Regions from separate parts of the Homo sapiens genome. Here regions 1, 2, 3 and 5 are each linked to region 4. Evidence: promoter capture Hi-C in 16 types of primary human blood cells and fetal thymus (Javierre and others, 2016). All regions are on one chromosome and are shown on one strand. The core of a region is centred on a gene start or on the middle of the fragment in contact, and the rest is flanking DNA. Distances in the headings are between cores, read along the strand shown. Region 1 has its middle 31 kb from the start of ZDHHC9. Region 2 has its middle 7.4 kb from the start of BCORL1. Region 3 overlaps UTP14A (UTP14A small subunit processome component). Region 4 holds the start of XPNPEP2 (X-prolyl aminopeptidase 2). Region 5 has its middle 28 kb from the start of BCORL1.

Evidence for each region. The method cuts DNA at HindIII sites, captures the fragments that hold promoters and counts their contacts. A CHiCAGO score of 5 or more calls a contact.
Region 1: a contact is called between a fragment that was not itself captured here and the fragment with the promoter of XPNPEP2 in region 4, in 5 of 17 cell types (activated CD4 T cells, non-activated CD4 T cells, total CD8 T cells and 2 more). The highest score is 7.5, in activated CD4 T cells.
Region 2: a contact is called between a fragment that was not itself captured here and the fragment with the promoter of XPNPEP2 in region 4, in 3 of 17 cell types (activated CD4 T cells, non-activated CD4 T cells and neutrophils). The highest score is 9.0, in activated CD4 T cells.
Region 3: a fragment that was not itself captured here is called in contact with the fragment with the promoter of XPNPEP2 in region 4 in 2 of 17 cell types (M0 macrophages and M1 macrophages); the score reaches 6.2 in M0 macrophages.
Region 5: a fragment that was not itself captured here is called in contact with the fragment with the promoter of XPNPEP2 in region 4 in 1 of 17 cell types (activated CD4 T cells); the score reaches 5.2 in activated CD4 T cells.

The regions. Positions count from the first base shown.
Region 1 is chrX:129,873,378-129,876,077 of GRCh38, reverse strand. It overlaps the pseudogene SALL4P2. Among named protein-coding and RNA genes, the nearest start is that of ZDHHC9, 31 kb to the right of the region's middle. The HindIII fragment of the contact is 1,207 bases long and covers 707-1,913 here.
Region 2 is chrX:129,973,842-129,976,541 of GRCh38, reverse strand. No RefSeq gene overlaps it. Among named protein-coding and RNA genes, the nearest start is that of BCORL1, 7.4 kb to the left of the region's middle. The HindIII fragment of the contact is 3,364 bases long and covers 1-2,700 here.
Region 3 is chrX:129,919,508-129,922,207 of GRCh38, reverse strand. UTP14A (UTP14A small subunit processome component) reads right to left here. Exons shown (of 15, transcript NM_006649.4): 9 at 1,628-1,751; 10 at 1,456-1,533; 11 at 621-1,014. The region is part of intron 2 of LOC105373335 (a long non-coding RNA gene); the gene reads left to right. Among named protein-coding and RNA genes, the nearest start is that of UTP14A, 15 kb to the right of the region's middle. The HindIII fragment of the contact is 8,896 bases long and covers 1-2,700 here.
Region 4 is chrX:129,737,702-129,740,401 of GRCh38, reverse strand. It overlaps XPNPEP2 (X-prolyl aminopeptidase 2), which reads right to left and starts at 1,423. Exons shown (of 21, transcript NM_003399.6): 1 at 1,140-1,423. The coding sequence starts at 1,188. RefSeq lists an enhancer at 2,144-2,193. The HindIII fragment of the contact is 11,300 bases long and covers 1-2,700 here.
Region 5 is chrX:129,953,097-129,955,828 of GRCh38, reverse strand. No RefSeq gene overlaps it. Among named protein-coding and RNA genes, the nearest start is that of BCORL1, 28 kb to the left of the region's middle. RefSeq lists an enhancer at 2,251-2,732. The HindIII fragment of the contact is 4,564 bases long and covers 1-2,732 here.

The DNA of each region.
Region 1 (2,700 bases), core at 61-2,560, 140 kb before region 4:
ACCTGTTAAAACTTGAACTTTGACATATGTTGACTGGGCTCAGAAAAACGTTGATGGGAGACAGCCCATCTCAGTGTGGCTGTTCTTGGGGTGCTCAGCTTTGCTCCCAGCATCTGGAGACTTTGTCATAATGCTTTCTGCTTGGCTAGTTGCTAGGGAGCGTGCCTGGAAGGATGTGGTTTCCACAGCATCTGGAGTTTGGCTAATAGTCCTGGTGTCCCATCAGTGAGAATGAGTCATTAAACTGTTGCTCTCCACTGAATCGTTTTTCAGCTGCTCTGCCTCTGCAGGCCAGAAGGAACAGGACCCACTTTCCTGGTGACTGCTAGGGAAGCCTTTGTGGCAAACCCTAGGGTGGGTTATATTAAGTGGATGCTAAGAAGAGGTGTGAGGACCTTTGAGTAGCTACTGGGGGCATCCTGGGAGCTGACTTTATCCACAGTGGTGTCTTCTTTCAACATCATCATGGCAGATGGCACTTGTATTACCATTCTCACTGACCATCATTGGCTCAGGACCCCTAAAATCACAGGGATTCTCTGGCGGGGACATGCTGGGAATCTGAGTGCCCATGTTCATCCAAATATGTTGTTGCAACATGACCACACTGGCAAATTTCTTTTGACTAATGGGGTATGTACTTATGGATGAGTTGGTTCCATGAACCCTGAGAAGTGTCTTTACGTTGCCTTTGGTAGAAAAAGCTTGTCCACAGATTTCACATAGGATGGGTCTCTCCCCAATGTGGGTGTGGTAATGTATGATTTTTTTCCAAGTGAGAGCAAATTTATTAAAGTAAAGGAATAAAAGAATGGCTACTCCATAGGCAGAGCAGCCCTGAGGGCTGCTGGTTGGCTATTTTTGTGGTTATTTCTTGACTACATGCTAAACAAGTGGCGGGTTTTTCATGAGTTTTCCGGGAAAGTGGTGGGCAACTCCTGGAACGGACGGTTCCTCCACCTTTTAGACCATAAATGGTAACTTCCTGACATTGCCTTGGCATTTGTAAACTGTCATGGTGCTGGTGGGAGTGTCTTTTAGCATACTAATGTATTATAATTAGCATATAATGAGCAGTGAGGATGACCAGAGGTTACTTTCCTCACCATCTTCGTTTGGGTGGGATTTGGTCTGCTTCTTTACCACATGTTGTTTTATCAGCAAGGTCTTTGTGACCTGTATCTTGTGCCAACCTCCTATCTCATCCTGTGACTTAGAATGCTTAACCTCCTGGGAATGCAGCCCAGTAGGTCTCAGCCTCATTTTACCCAGCCCCTATTCAGGATGGAGGCACTCTGGTTTGAACACCTCTGACATATTTCTCCCCTGCGTTTTACAAAGGAATCCTTAATCTTTTATTATTATTATTATTTTATTTATTTATTTATTTATTTTTTTGAGATGGAGGCTTGCTCTGTCACCCAGGCTGGAGTGCAGTGGCGCGATCTTGGCCCTCTGCAACCTTCCCCTCCCGAGTTCAAGCGATTCTCCTGCCTCAGCCTGCCAGGTAGCTGGGACTACAGGTGCGTGCCACCATGCCTGGCTAATTTTTGTATTTTTAGTAGAGATGGGGTTTTGCCATGTTGGCCAGGCTGGTGTCAAACTCGTGACCTCAGGTGATTCACCCGCCTCGGCCTCCGAAAGTGCTGGGATTACAGGTGTGAGCCTCCGCATCTGGCCAGGAACCCTTAATCTTAAGGGTTATAGAGGGACAAAGATCCATCTTCCGTAACTTCTTCAGGCTGAATTGGGCAATGATACTCCTGCCTACCTATTAGGGTCTCTTGTATTCAGGGTAGAGAGGAGCTCAGTCAGAAAGTGTAAGTATGGTGAGGGCCATCCATAACTCTTGAGTTCTGACAAAAGCTGATATCTGTAGTAAGTATTCAATTTAAGAAAATGTTGAGTAAGCTTATCCTGCATTCCTACACAAAGAGTACAGCAGCAATATTTTCCACAACAGTAAAACAAAGTAAGTAAAATTATTCCAAGTGAACTGAATAAGAAAGCTTTCCACGAACTGGGCAATTGTTGAAACCAAGCTGATATGGTGTCGCTAGCTGATTCTAATATGTGCCCAGAATTAGAATACTGACCCAGATTTTTACATTACCCATCCCTCTTGTTTCTTCTGAGCAGCAGCCAGAGATCACTGGTTGGTTCACAGGAATAAGCACGGTTAGTCTAAATTGCAGGAAAAAAAACCCTTAAAAACAACGAATGAGACTATAATTTAATAACAGGCGTACCATCGTTCTTGAAACAATTTTTCTCTCTCCAGTCTCCCATTTTTACTAAAGACAAATCATGGTAAGACTGATTTGCTTTATTATACTTGGCCTGATTATGTGTATAAAGTGCAGCAATAATAATAATAATTGTTAGATTTTTTTTTTCTTGAGATGGAGTCTCACTGTGTCGCCTAGGCTGGAGTGCAGTGGCATGATCTTGGCTCACTGCAACCTTCACCTCCTGAGTTCAAGCGATTCTCATGCCTCAACCTTCCAAGTAGCTGGGATTACAGGCACACGCTGCCATGCCCAGCTAATTTTTCTATTTTTAGTAGAGACAGGGTCTCACCATACCAGCCTGGCTGGTCTTGAACTCCTGACCTCAAGTGATCCGCCTGCCTTGACTTCAAGAATAATTATTTTTAACATAGGCTTTTAAAATTGTCTTTGACGGAACTCTGTTCCTTAA
Region 2 (2,700 bases), core at 149-2,648, 240 kb before region 4:
AAATTTCAAAGGCATGAGCCTTTTTTGCAAGAAGGGTTGCTAAGGTAGATACATTCCAGCTGCCTACAGAGTACTGGATACTAAGTGCTGGCTCCCAGAGAACAAATGGCCTGGTCTCTGCCCTCTTAGAGCCCCAGGTGTGGATGGGGAGACAGCATGTCCGGTTAAACTGAACTCTGTAAACAACCAACAACTTTTTTGGATTTTATAGCCAAAGGAGTGAAAATGAGGAAAGGGGCTGAAATCAACCCAGAGGCCTCACCGGGTCAAGCCCTTCAGCTTGCTGACCACTCTCCTCTTCCCTGAGACTCCTAGGCTCTAAACAAAGTTCTTTCTTAAAAATTATTATTTTTTTTAACATTAGAGGGGGTGGTGGTGGCGTGGTCTTGCAATGTTGCCTAGGCTGGTCTGGAACTCCTGGGCTCAAGTGATCCTCCAGCCTTGGCCTTCCAAAATGCTGGGATTATAGGTGTGTGAGCCACCGCGCCCAGCCAACAAAGTTCTTAATCAAACATGCAGTGCTAGAAGTGGAAGGGATTCTAAGAAATCTGCCCTCCTGAAAAACTGGCTATGGTTGGCCACTGCCAACAAAATCAAGTCCATGAGCCTTCACCTAGCCTTTAGGGCCCTCCCTGATCTAGTTCTAGCCTCCTTTCCTTCCATGTCTCTCACAAGCCCTCTTTTCTGACCTGACTGGCCCCCTCGGCATTCCTTGGATAAGCCATCCATTTTGTCAGCTCTGCTTCCTCAGCTTTTTTTTTTTTTTAAACACTTAAAAAAATTGTACAGATGAGGCTGGGCGTGGTGGCTCACACCTGTAATCCCAGCACATTGGGAGGCCAAGGCGGGTGGATCACCTGAGGTCAGAAGTTCAAGACCAGCCTGGTCAACATGGTGAAACCCCATCTCTACTAAATATACAAATATTAGCCAGGCATGGTGGCAGGTGCCTGTAATCCCAGCTACTCAGGAGGCTGAGGCAGGAGAATCGCTTGAACTCAGGAGGTGGAGGTTGCAGTGAGCCAAGATCACGCCATTGTGCTCCAGCCTGGGCAAAGAGAGCAAAACTTTGTTCAAAAAAAAAAATTGCACAAATGAGTTCTTGAGTTCTCGTTGTGTTGCCCAGGCTGGTCTTGAACTCCTAGCCTCAAGTGATCCTTCCCTCTTCGCCTCCTAAAGTGCTGAGATTACAGGTGTGAGCCACCATAGTGGCCTCCCACAGGTTTTTTTGTTTGTTTGTTTGCTTGCTTTTTTTTGAGATGGAGTTTTGCTCTTGTCGCCCAGCCTGGAATGCAATGGCGTGATCTTGGCTCACTGCAACCTCCTTCTCCTGGGTTCAAGCGATTCTCCTGCCTCAGCCTCCCTAGTAGCTGGGATTACAGGCACGTGCCACCACACCCAGCTAATTTTTGTATTTTTAGTAGAGACAGGGTTTCACCATGTTGGCCAGGTTGGTCTCGAACTCCTGATTTCACATGATCCACCCACCTTGGCTTCTCAAAGTGCTGGGATTATAGGCGTGAGCCATCGCACCTGGCCCCTCCCACCTGCCCCCTCCCACAGCTTTTTATATGTCTTTCTCAGCTTATTGAAATCTCACTCAACCGTTACTCAAGACAGCTCTCTCATCTGGGTGTGGCGGCTCACGCCTGTAATCCCAGCACTTTGGGAGACCAAGGTGGGTGGGTCACTTGAGGTCAGGAGTTCGAGACCAGCCTGGGCAACATGGCAAAACCCCGTCTCTACTTAAAATACCAAACTTAGCCAGGTGTAATGGCACACGCCTGTAATCCCAGCTACTTGGGAGGCTGAGGCAGGAGAATTGCTTGAACCTGGGAGGCAGAGGCTGCAGTGAGCTGAGATCTTGCCACTGCACTCCAGCCTGGGCGACAGAGCAAGACTCTGTCTCAAACAACAAACAACAAACAAACAAACAAAAGACCATTCTCTCATGCCCCTTTCCCTGACACCCACACCCTCCCTATGGAAGTTGGCTGCTCCTCTGGGGCACCCCCACAGTTTTTAGCTTGTCCCTTTAGTTAGCACTTCCACACTCTGCCTGTCTATCTCTCCGACTAGATTTTAAGTTCCTTGGATAAAAGGACTCAGTATTTCTCATCTGTGTATCACAGCCTCCTTCATCTCCCCCCAAGACCTCCCACCTTGGCACATAGTAGGACTTGTTTTACAGTGGAGAAGCTGAGGCCCAGACTTGACTTCCCTTCTTGCCAAAGACTCATTTTAAAGTCTGGGTCTCTTTTAGTCTTTCTCTTCCCACTCAGTGATTAAGCACACAATCTCTGAAGTTAGACAGACATGGTTTGAATACTGGCTCCACCACTTCCTAGCGCTATTGCCTTGCATACTTTTCTCTGAGCCTCAATTCCCTCATTTGTGAAATGGGGGCTAATAAGTACCTCCTGAAAACGTTATAAGGGCCAGGCGCGGTGGCTGAAGCCCGTAATCCCAATGCTTTGTGTGGCCAAGGCGGGGGGAACAGTTGAAGTCAGGAGTTCAAGATCAGCCTGGGCAATATGGTGAAACTCATCTCTGTATATAAAAAAGAAGAAGAAGAAGCAAACGTTATAAAGATCACATGAGTTCTTGTATGTTAAGCACTTAGAACAGTGCCTGGCACCCAGTAGATGCTCCATAGTAGTTTAAAAAAATAAGGAATTTTTAAAGTTCAGAACTTGAGAG
Region 3 (2,700 bases), core at 147-2,646, 180 kb before region 4:
TCTTCAAGATAACAGGTAGAAAATATAACATACAAATAGAGCCTGAGTATGGAGTCACAATTCTAATTTGCCATGTGGCCCTGTGGAGTCATTCATTCCGTAAAGTCTCACCCCATGTATACACACATCAACTAGCATTAAGAAGTGCTAAAAATGCCACTCCTACTTAACCAACAAAACAAAAAAATCCAGCAACTAGACAATGTTTCCTAATGTCTCAAAATTGACCTATCTGTGTCTACAGGTGTGAATGGACTTTCAGATTTGCCATTCTACCATACGTACTTCTCCCTGGTGTGTAGGTACCAGGAACGCTAACTCATACCCTGACTTCGAGTATGGTTTAGTTATTATGGGTTTCTGAAGGCTGTAAGCCCCCAAGAACAGAAAATGTGCCTGAACCACGTTGCACGGCCATGCAGATGACTGCTTATTAAATGTCTTCGAAGAAAAATAGTTATGAATCTAATTTCTCTTCAGGGATCCAGTGTACGCACTCTTGCAAGTCCCCAGCGCCTAATCACTATGCAGTTTTGTGTGTGGGTGGACACATTTTTTTTTTCTCCCATAGTCTGTCCACAGCACTAGGAATTTCCCTCTTCCATTTGATCACAGCTCACCTTTTGTTTCTTGACTGCCTGCTGGCTCAGCATCTTGGCTGAGCTCAGATCTTTTTCTAAGGGATCGCCTTTCCTCAAATTCTCTCAACAAAATTTCTTCTTCTGCCACTGGTCTTTCTTCTCCCTCACTTTCAGAAACTCCATGGGCCTCAAGCTCTGGCAGTTGCTCAGGGTCCTCCTGGGTTGCAGCCTCTTTGGTGTCACTGGTGCAGCTCCTGAGCATCCAGGGATTCGGCCCATCTGCATTCATCTGCACTTCATTCACTACATCAGGGACAAGGAGTTCTTCCACATCTTCTGTGCCTCCCTCCTCTTCCTCACTCTCAGAGGCTACCTGGAGTTTCTGTGTCAGTTCTTTGTTCTTAGACAACTGTTCCTGCATAGCTTGGCGAGCCTGGAGGAAAGAGTCACAGCATGAGAGCCCTGTCATTAGTGACCGCAATAACACCTTTCCTGGTCCATTTCATAAAGCTGCCTCCTCTCAATTTGACTTGGTGAGTATTTCTTACTGGTACCTACTGTTTAAACTGCATATACAATGCTGGGTTAATAGCTATGGTATAAAATGGAAGACAAATTCTTTGTCCTCAAGGAATCAACGGTGAAATAAGATTTTAAAAAGCTCCTCTCCCCCTTTGGACTTGCCTTCAATGCTGTTTCCCTTTCATCTCTCCTTTTCCACCTTGTTCCTGGTCATTTTCCTTTCTGCCTTAGAGATTTTTCTGATGCCTTTTTAGATTCCTGGTTTTCCATCCATCCTCATGGCTCTTCCCCAACTCTGCTTCTGCTAGCATCCTCCAATTCCAGATCTTCTCTCACCCCAAGGGTCTCTTACCTCCAGGTCATATTTGGCCATAATTGCCTTTGACTTGGCCCATTTCCCACTGTTTTGGTGCTTAAGGCTCATTCTTTCCTAGAAAGAAAGGACAGAGTGAGATTTACATCTTTAGTGCCTTCCAAGGAAAGCTGGTTCAAAGGGGTGGGGGTGGGGCAAGAGGTAGTCTCACCATCATTCTGGCCTTTTCAATTTTTTCCAGTTCTTCTAGTGCTGCAGCTGGATTAACCTTCCGCAGCTGCTCAAACTCTTTTAGGGCTTTCTTGGCCTTTCCTTTCTTCACGACTTTGTGATACCTGTAGGGGTAGGAGGGAAGAGTTTAGCAATTTAGCTGAAGCACGGATGTCATAGGCACAAGTGCCCATACTACCCAATGGGTTCCCTAGGCAGGGGGCTGGAATGGGCATCATAGAGCTAGTTGGCTATAGGGAGTCAGTTTGGGACCTGACAGGACTGGCAAGATTCTTGGTACCCACAGTCCTCAGGGTGGACCTCTGCAGCTCAAAGAGTCTCCTTTGCCTCTATAACTCAAGGGAGGGGTAGAACAAGTTTCATTTTTTTTTTTAGACAGGGTCTCACTCTGTCACTCAGGCTGGAGTGCAGTGACATGATCTTGGCTCACTGCAGCCTCCACCCGCTGGGCTCAAGCGATCCTCCCGCCTCAGCCTCCTAAGTAGCTGGGACTATAGGTGCACATTACCATGCCTGGCTAATTTTTGTACTTTTAGTAGAGATGGGGTTTCGCCATGTTGGCCAGGCTGGTCTTGAATTCCTTACCTCAAGTGATCCACCTGCCTGAGCCTCCCAAAGTGCTGGGATTACAGGTGTGAGCCACCGTGCCCAGCCAGTTTTGCCATGTTGCCCAGGCTGGTCTTGAACTCCTGAGCTCAAGTGGTCCATCCACCTCGGCCTCCCAAAGTGCTGGGATTACAAGCATAGCCACCACACCCGGCCGAACAAGTTTCAAAGAGGCAAAAAGGCAGGAAGGAAGCCCTATTGGCCTTAACAGCTCTGGAATTCAGAGCTGATTCTGCAGAACCACTCTGTGATGCCTTGGAAGGCAGAGAAAGTAACTGAATAGTCATCTTTTTGGCAAAACTGTATGAGGTTGGTTTGGGGGGAACAAAAGGCTAGTCACTCCTGTTTGGGACCTCATCTGCATGACTCTAGTTGCTGCATCAAAGGTTCTCTCCAAAGAATTCATGATGAACCACATGACTTTCTTCTGTGGAACCCAAGGCCAGT
Region 4 (2,700 bases), core at 174-2,673:
GCCTGCCATGGCCTCCCAAAGAGCTGGGATTACAGGCATGAGCCACCACGCCCAGCCACACTTTCGAGTGGGCTGAGCTACAGATGCAAGGAGGGTGGCTGGGGTTCAACACCATGAACGTCCTGTGTGATTTTATCTTGGTCTCATAAACTCAAGGATCAGATGCGACCCATACTGTTCATTTAAGAAAACAAACACCCATTTCTGTAGAAACAGATCCCTGGCAAAATGTTGGCACTGATATGCTAACATAAGAATGAGGACACAGCCAACTTATGTCTCTCTGGACACCAGAATATGCTGTTCTCTGAGGCCAGGGCTGTGGCTCCCAAGAGCAGGCTCTGCAGCTGAATGACTCTGTGGTCCCTGGCACAAGGCCTGGCACTGGGTAGGTGCTCAGGAACTGGACATTGAGTGACTGATCAGGCCCTGCTGACAGACAACAAAGAAAGGAAGGCTAGGGTGGGAGCGCTGGGCTGGGCACCTAGTTGAGGACAGAGAGGGTGCCGCAGGAATGACAAAGAGGAAAGACTCTCTTCCTGACCAAAGTTTAGTTAGGCTCCCCCAAAGCCTCTTCTCCACTTGGCCTTGACCTTGGCCTTCTGTGTCTGTCCTGCCCTTGCCAGGCTTGCATCACCCAGTCTTAGCAAGAATCTTGCTAAGTCAGTTTAGACACCCTTGATATCTGATCACTCTGGCCTGCCGTCAGCAAGAATGCTGTTCAGTCGGTTTAGCAAGAATCCCCCTACCCTTGCTATCTCCTCTTAATACTTTTCCATCCACTGACCCCCTCACTCTGCTCCTTGGCTACAGATCCCTGGAAGTCTTTTCTGTAATCAGAGTTGAGCCCCATTTCTCTCCTCTATTGCAATGCGGTAGTCTTAAATTAAGTTTTCCTTACCGTTTTAACGAGTGTCAGAATATTTTTTTTCTATAACGGGGGGAATGGAAAGGTGCCAAACCAGACTCGATCCAAGTTATGAGGGCCCCCAACACTGGCCCTGAGGTGTCTCTTCCTCAAGTCAGAGAGAGGAAGCAACAGAAAAAGAGACTCGGGCCCCAACCCTCACTCCAACCCTTTCTGAGCTCAGAGGGGAGAGGTCAGAGCTGCCTTCCAGTGGAAGCTAGGATGCACATACCACAGAGGAGGACCAGCCAGGGGCAGCAGCCCCAGTGAGCCCGGGCCATAGGGTCTCCAGATGCCGGCGCTGGGTGGATGGAGGGACAAGGGAGAGAGGGAGGGCTCTTTCCCCGGCCTCTTCCTTCAGGCCTTTCCTGGGCTCGAGCAGACAGAGGGTGGGGGCTGGCGTCAAGAAGGAGGCGTCTGGCTGCTGGGTGGAGAGTGCTTCTCTGGTCTTTTGTTTTGGAGGGCTCTGGGAGCCAGGGTGGGCAGAGGAGCTTTGGGCTGCCCGAGGCGGACTGTGCAAGTTCCTAGTCGTGTAGGATAGGGTGTGAGGCTATCCTGGGCAGAGTCCAAAGATCTCAGAGACAGAGGCACAACAGCTGGTCTCAATCAGCCTGCTTTTCCCAGCCCCCTCTCAGCGGCAGAGCCCCAGCCATTCCTTAATTCGGTCCCCTTCCCTCCAGCAAGCTGATTCCCATTAGCTCCCACACTCTGGGCTCTGGCTCCAGCACTGCTTTTGCTGTGGGGATGGAGATTTGCCTCCTGCTGCTGCTCCTTTTCCTCCCCACCTCTTCTTCCTCCTCGTTTTCCTTCTCCTCCTCCTTTTTCCTCCTTCCCCTCCTTTTCTGGGCTCCTCCACTTCCTCTTCTTCTTCCTCCTTTTCCCTCCTCATCCTCCTCCTTTTTTTTTTTTTCCTCCTTGTCCATTTCCTCCTCCTCCTCCTTTTTGCTCTTCCTCCCCCTCCTTTTTTCCTCCCTCTCTTCCTCCAAGCTGACTGGAAAAGCCAGTGTCCTCTCTTCTTGTAGTGCTTGGCAAGTCCCACTGTACCCCTTGGGAAAGTTGGTTGTGACTGGAGAGTTACTTTCTTGAGCTGGGATGAGTCCCCCCAGGAGTGCCCACTCTGAAGAAGTGATGCCAGCTCTTCCCTTGGGATCTGGGGAGTCCCATTCCCCTGCATTTTCTGAACCTGCACTCTGGGGAACCGAGGCTGTTAGAGCCACTCACACCTGGGAGGAAATGAAAGCCCAAAGATGCCCCTATCTGGAGGGTTTGGGGGATGCCACTGAATAGGGAAGAAGACACAGAAAGGGGAGTTTGGGCGCTCTGAGAAGACTAATTTGGTGAACTGGAAATGCTGTTTCTGCTGTAGCTTCTAGAACAGGGATTTGGTTACCCTGAAGTGTGAGTCACTCGTAAACAACACAACTCCCAATGAGGGAAATGGAGAAGCTGAGGCCTGCCTTGTCTTCACGCCCAGCTGAATCAGAGGGCAGCTTCAAGGCAGCTCCTAGTAAATGCTCTACAGAACCCTTGCTCTTTGGGTTCGAGGAAGGTGATTTCCCAGAGAGGAATGCTTTAGAGAGACAAACAGACCCAATGGGGATGGATGCTCACCTAGCCTGGAGGGCCCCAGAGGCAAACTGCCCATTCCTTTTGTTTCTATTTTTATTTTTGAAACAGGGTCTTATTCTGTTGCCCAGGGTGGAGTGCAGTGGCATGTTCTCGGTTCACTGCAACCTCAGCCTCCCGGGCTCAAGTGATTCTCCAGCCTCAGCCTTCTGAGTAGCTGAGACCAC
Region 5 (2,732 bases), core at 102-2,601, 220 kb before region 4:
TCTTTTTCTTTCTTTCTTTCCACAGGGTCTCTTGCTCTGTTGCTCAGGCTACAGTGCATTGGAGCGATCATGGCTTACTGCAGCCTTGACCTCCTGGGCTCAAGCGATCCCTCCACCTCAACCTCATAAGTAGCTGGGACCATAGGTGCGCGCCACCATGTCCAGCTAATTCTCAAAAACATGTTTTTTGTAGAGACAAGTTCTCTCTGTTGCCCAGGCTGGTCTCAAGCTCCTAGGCTCAAGTGATCCTCATGCCTCAGGTCTCCCAAAGTGCTGGGATTACAGGTGTGAGCCACCATGCCCGTTCATCCCTTTTTCAAGTCAAGTGCTGCCTTATCTACCCATCCACCTACACACCTGGCTTAGAAGCACCCCATTCAGGGCGAGGTCTTTCTATTGCCACCCATCCTTGGTGCTGGGCTTTGCACTTAAGAGGGGCTTTCAAAAATAGACACAAAGGGTGAGGGGCCATCTTTGGCTCGCCTGGCCAGGGACAGGATCAAGCTGCCCAGTTACAAATCTGTTATGTATATTCTGTGCCCTGGTGCCCTTCTTCCAAATCAAAATATAGCAGGCAGTGCAAACATTTATGCAAATGAGCCAGGAGCCCTCCTGCTTTCAAAAATAAATGATGGAGCCCGTATCAGTAGTTGCAGTGTGTCTTGGCAGTGTTTAGAAGGGGCCCTGTCCACCCCTTGCTAGTTCTCTTGGGAAGCCCAGCACAGTGAGAAGCAGTGTATCTTACCCCCCTCATTTCCCCCTCCCCTCCAATACTACAAACAGCCACAAACCACATGGCCCACAAGCAACTGAGATTTGTGGCCTTTGGAACCTCCCAGGGCAGGGGTCAGTCAGCAGGTCAAAGCGGGTGTAGGCATCACACAGTCCAGAGTCATTACTCTAATGCCCTCTGGGAGAGTTTCAAATCAATGGGCCTATTTGTCCTCCCTCCAGGGAGGACTGGGGGTAGGGCAGCGGGGGTCCATTATCAAGCCCATCCCCACAACACTGCCTCCAAGAAGCTCACCCTTAGCCTGGCATCCTGAAAACCTCACTGCTACCCAGAAGACAGAAACCGGAAGTGGGATGATGTCTGTGGGGATGGGCAGATAGGATGTCTCCTTTGCATTCTAGGTTAGGAATCTAGGAGTCTGGACTTTTATGTGGGAGTCTCTGTGGCATTTACAAAGCCAGCAGGGTGACTTTGGGCGCCTGTTGACCTCTCTACATTTTGGCAAATAGCCAGTTTCCAGCAAGACCATGCCCTGACCCAGTTGTCTCTGTTGCTTCTGGGAGAGTTTTAGAATCACTCTTTGTGGGAAAGAGGTTGGGTAGTATAGTGATTAGAGAGCTGGACTTGGGCATTGGCCAGACCTGGATTCCAAACCCAGCTCTGCCACTAACCAGCTGTGTGACCTCTTCAAGTTACCTTCTCTGAACCATAGTTGCCTTATCTGTTGAACGGGGATAATAATAGTACCTACCATATAAGACTGTTATTGGGATTAGTGTGCTATGTACTTGGCAGTTTGTGAGGGTTCAATAAATAGTAGTTGTGGTGGCCATTCTTACTAGGTTTGGTTGCAGGCAAGTGCTATTCTGCTGGTCCCTGTCAAGCCTGAGGCCCTTCTCGGCTCAAATCCCTCCCTAAGATACTGGAGAGATGGAATTCTTTCTGTCACCCCTCCCCTCCCAGCATTTGGGTCTTTTGTTCTGGGATTGGCCAGGGCTATGCCTAAAGTGCACCAAGTGTGGCTCTGGCCACAGGCATATCCCCTGAGGGGACTTAGCCTTGTTGACTAAAATGGTATTAAGTGGTCAGCGGGTGGCGAGGGGGAGACTCAGGGGAACAGTACCTCCGAAGACTCTAAAATGCATACACATGGTATCTAGGGCCAGGCTAGTGCCATGGCTCTAGACCCTAGCTAAGAGTGCATTTACAGAGGCTGCTTTGAGAATGTTTTGTGAATGTTTTGGCTGATTTACTGGATAACCTTCATCTTCAATGGCCTTGTTTAAATTTTACCACGGTATGGAATGGGAAGGAGCTCACTTTCCATTCCAACTTTTGGTGGCAGGAGTTGGTAGGATGGGAAGGGCAGCTCGCTAAGTGCTGGACAACATGGCCCAAAAACAATCTGGTTCAGCCAGAAGTTCACGAATACATAGGCCAGCTCTGCTTTTGCAGGGCACCTTCATCCCACTTTTGGATTCATCCTTACTGTTGAGTTTGAACTGCTAAAGGGAGAGAGACTGGGTCTCTCCTATCAGACCTGGAGCTCCCTGAGGTTGGAGATCTTGTCAACCCCACTGTACCGGGAACCTTCCGACGGCGGGGGCCGAGTCTCCTCCCTTTGGCTGGCCGTTCTCCAGCCTGGGAACCGAAAAAGCTGCCTCCGCCCCCGGAGCATGTCCCCCACCCATGCCCGGTGCATTCCTTGGTATTCGAAGCACCCGGAGGCTCAGCACCCGCGGCGGAGCGATTGGCGCCAGCGAGGCCCGGAAGGATGCTTCGGGGCCCGAACTCCCCAGACCTCCGGCTGGGCAGGGGAGGGGGAAGCTGCCGGCTGCCCGAGGAGGGAGGGGCCACGTGGTTGTGGGGAGCTGCAGAGGGGTGCCCCCGGGTCCGTCCAGGCCCTTTTGTCTGTCCCCTGCGCCGAAGCCCCCTCCCCAAAGTGGGCTGGCTGCCGGGGAGGAGGGAGGCCCCGGTGGGCGTGGGGGGGTGGTGCGGA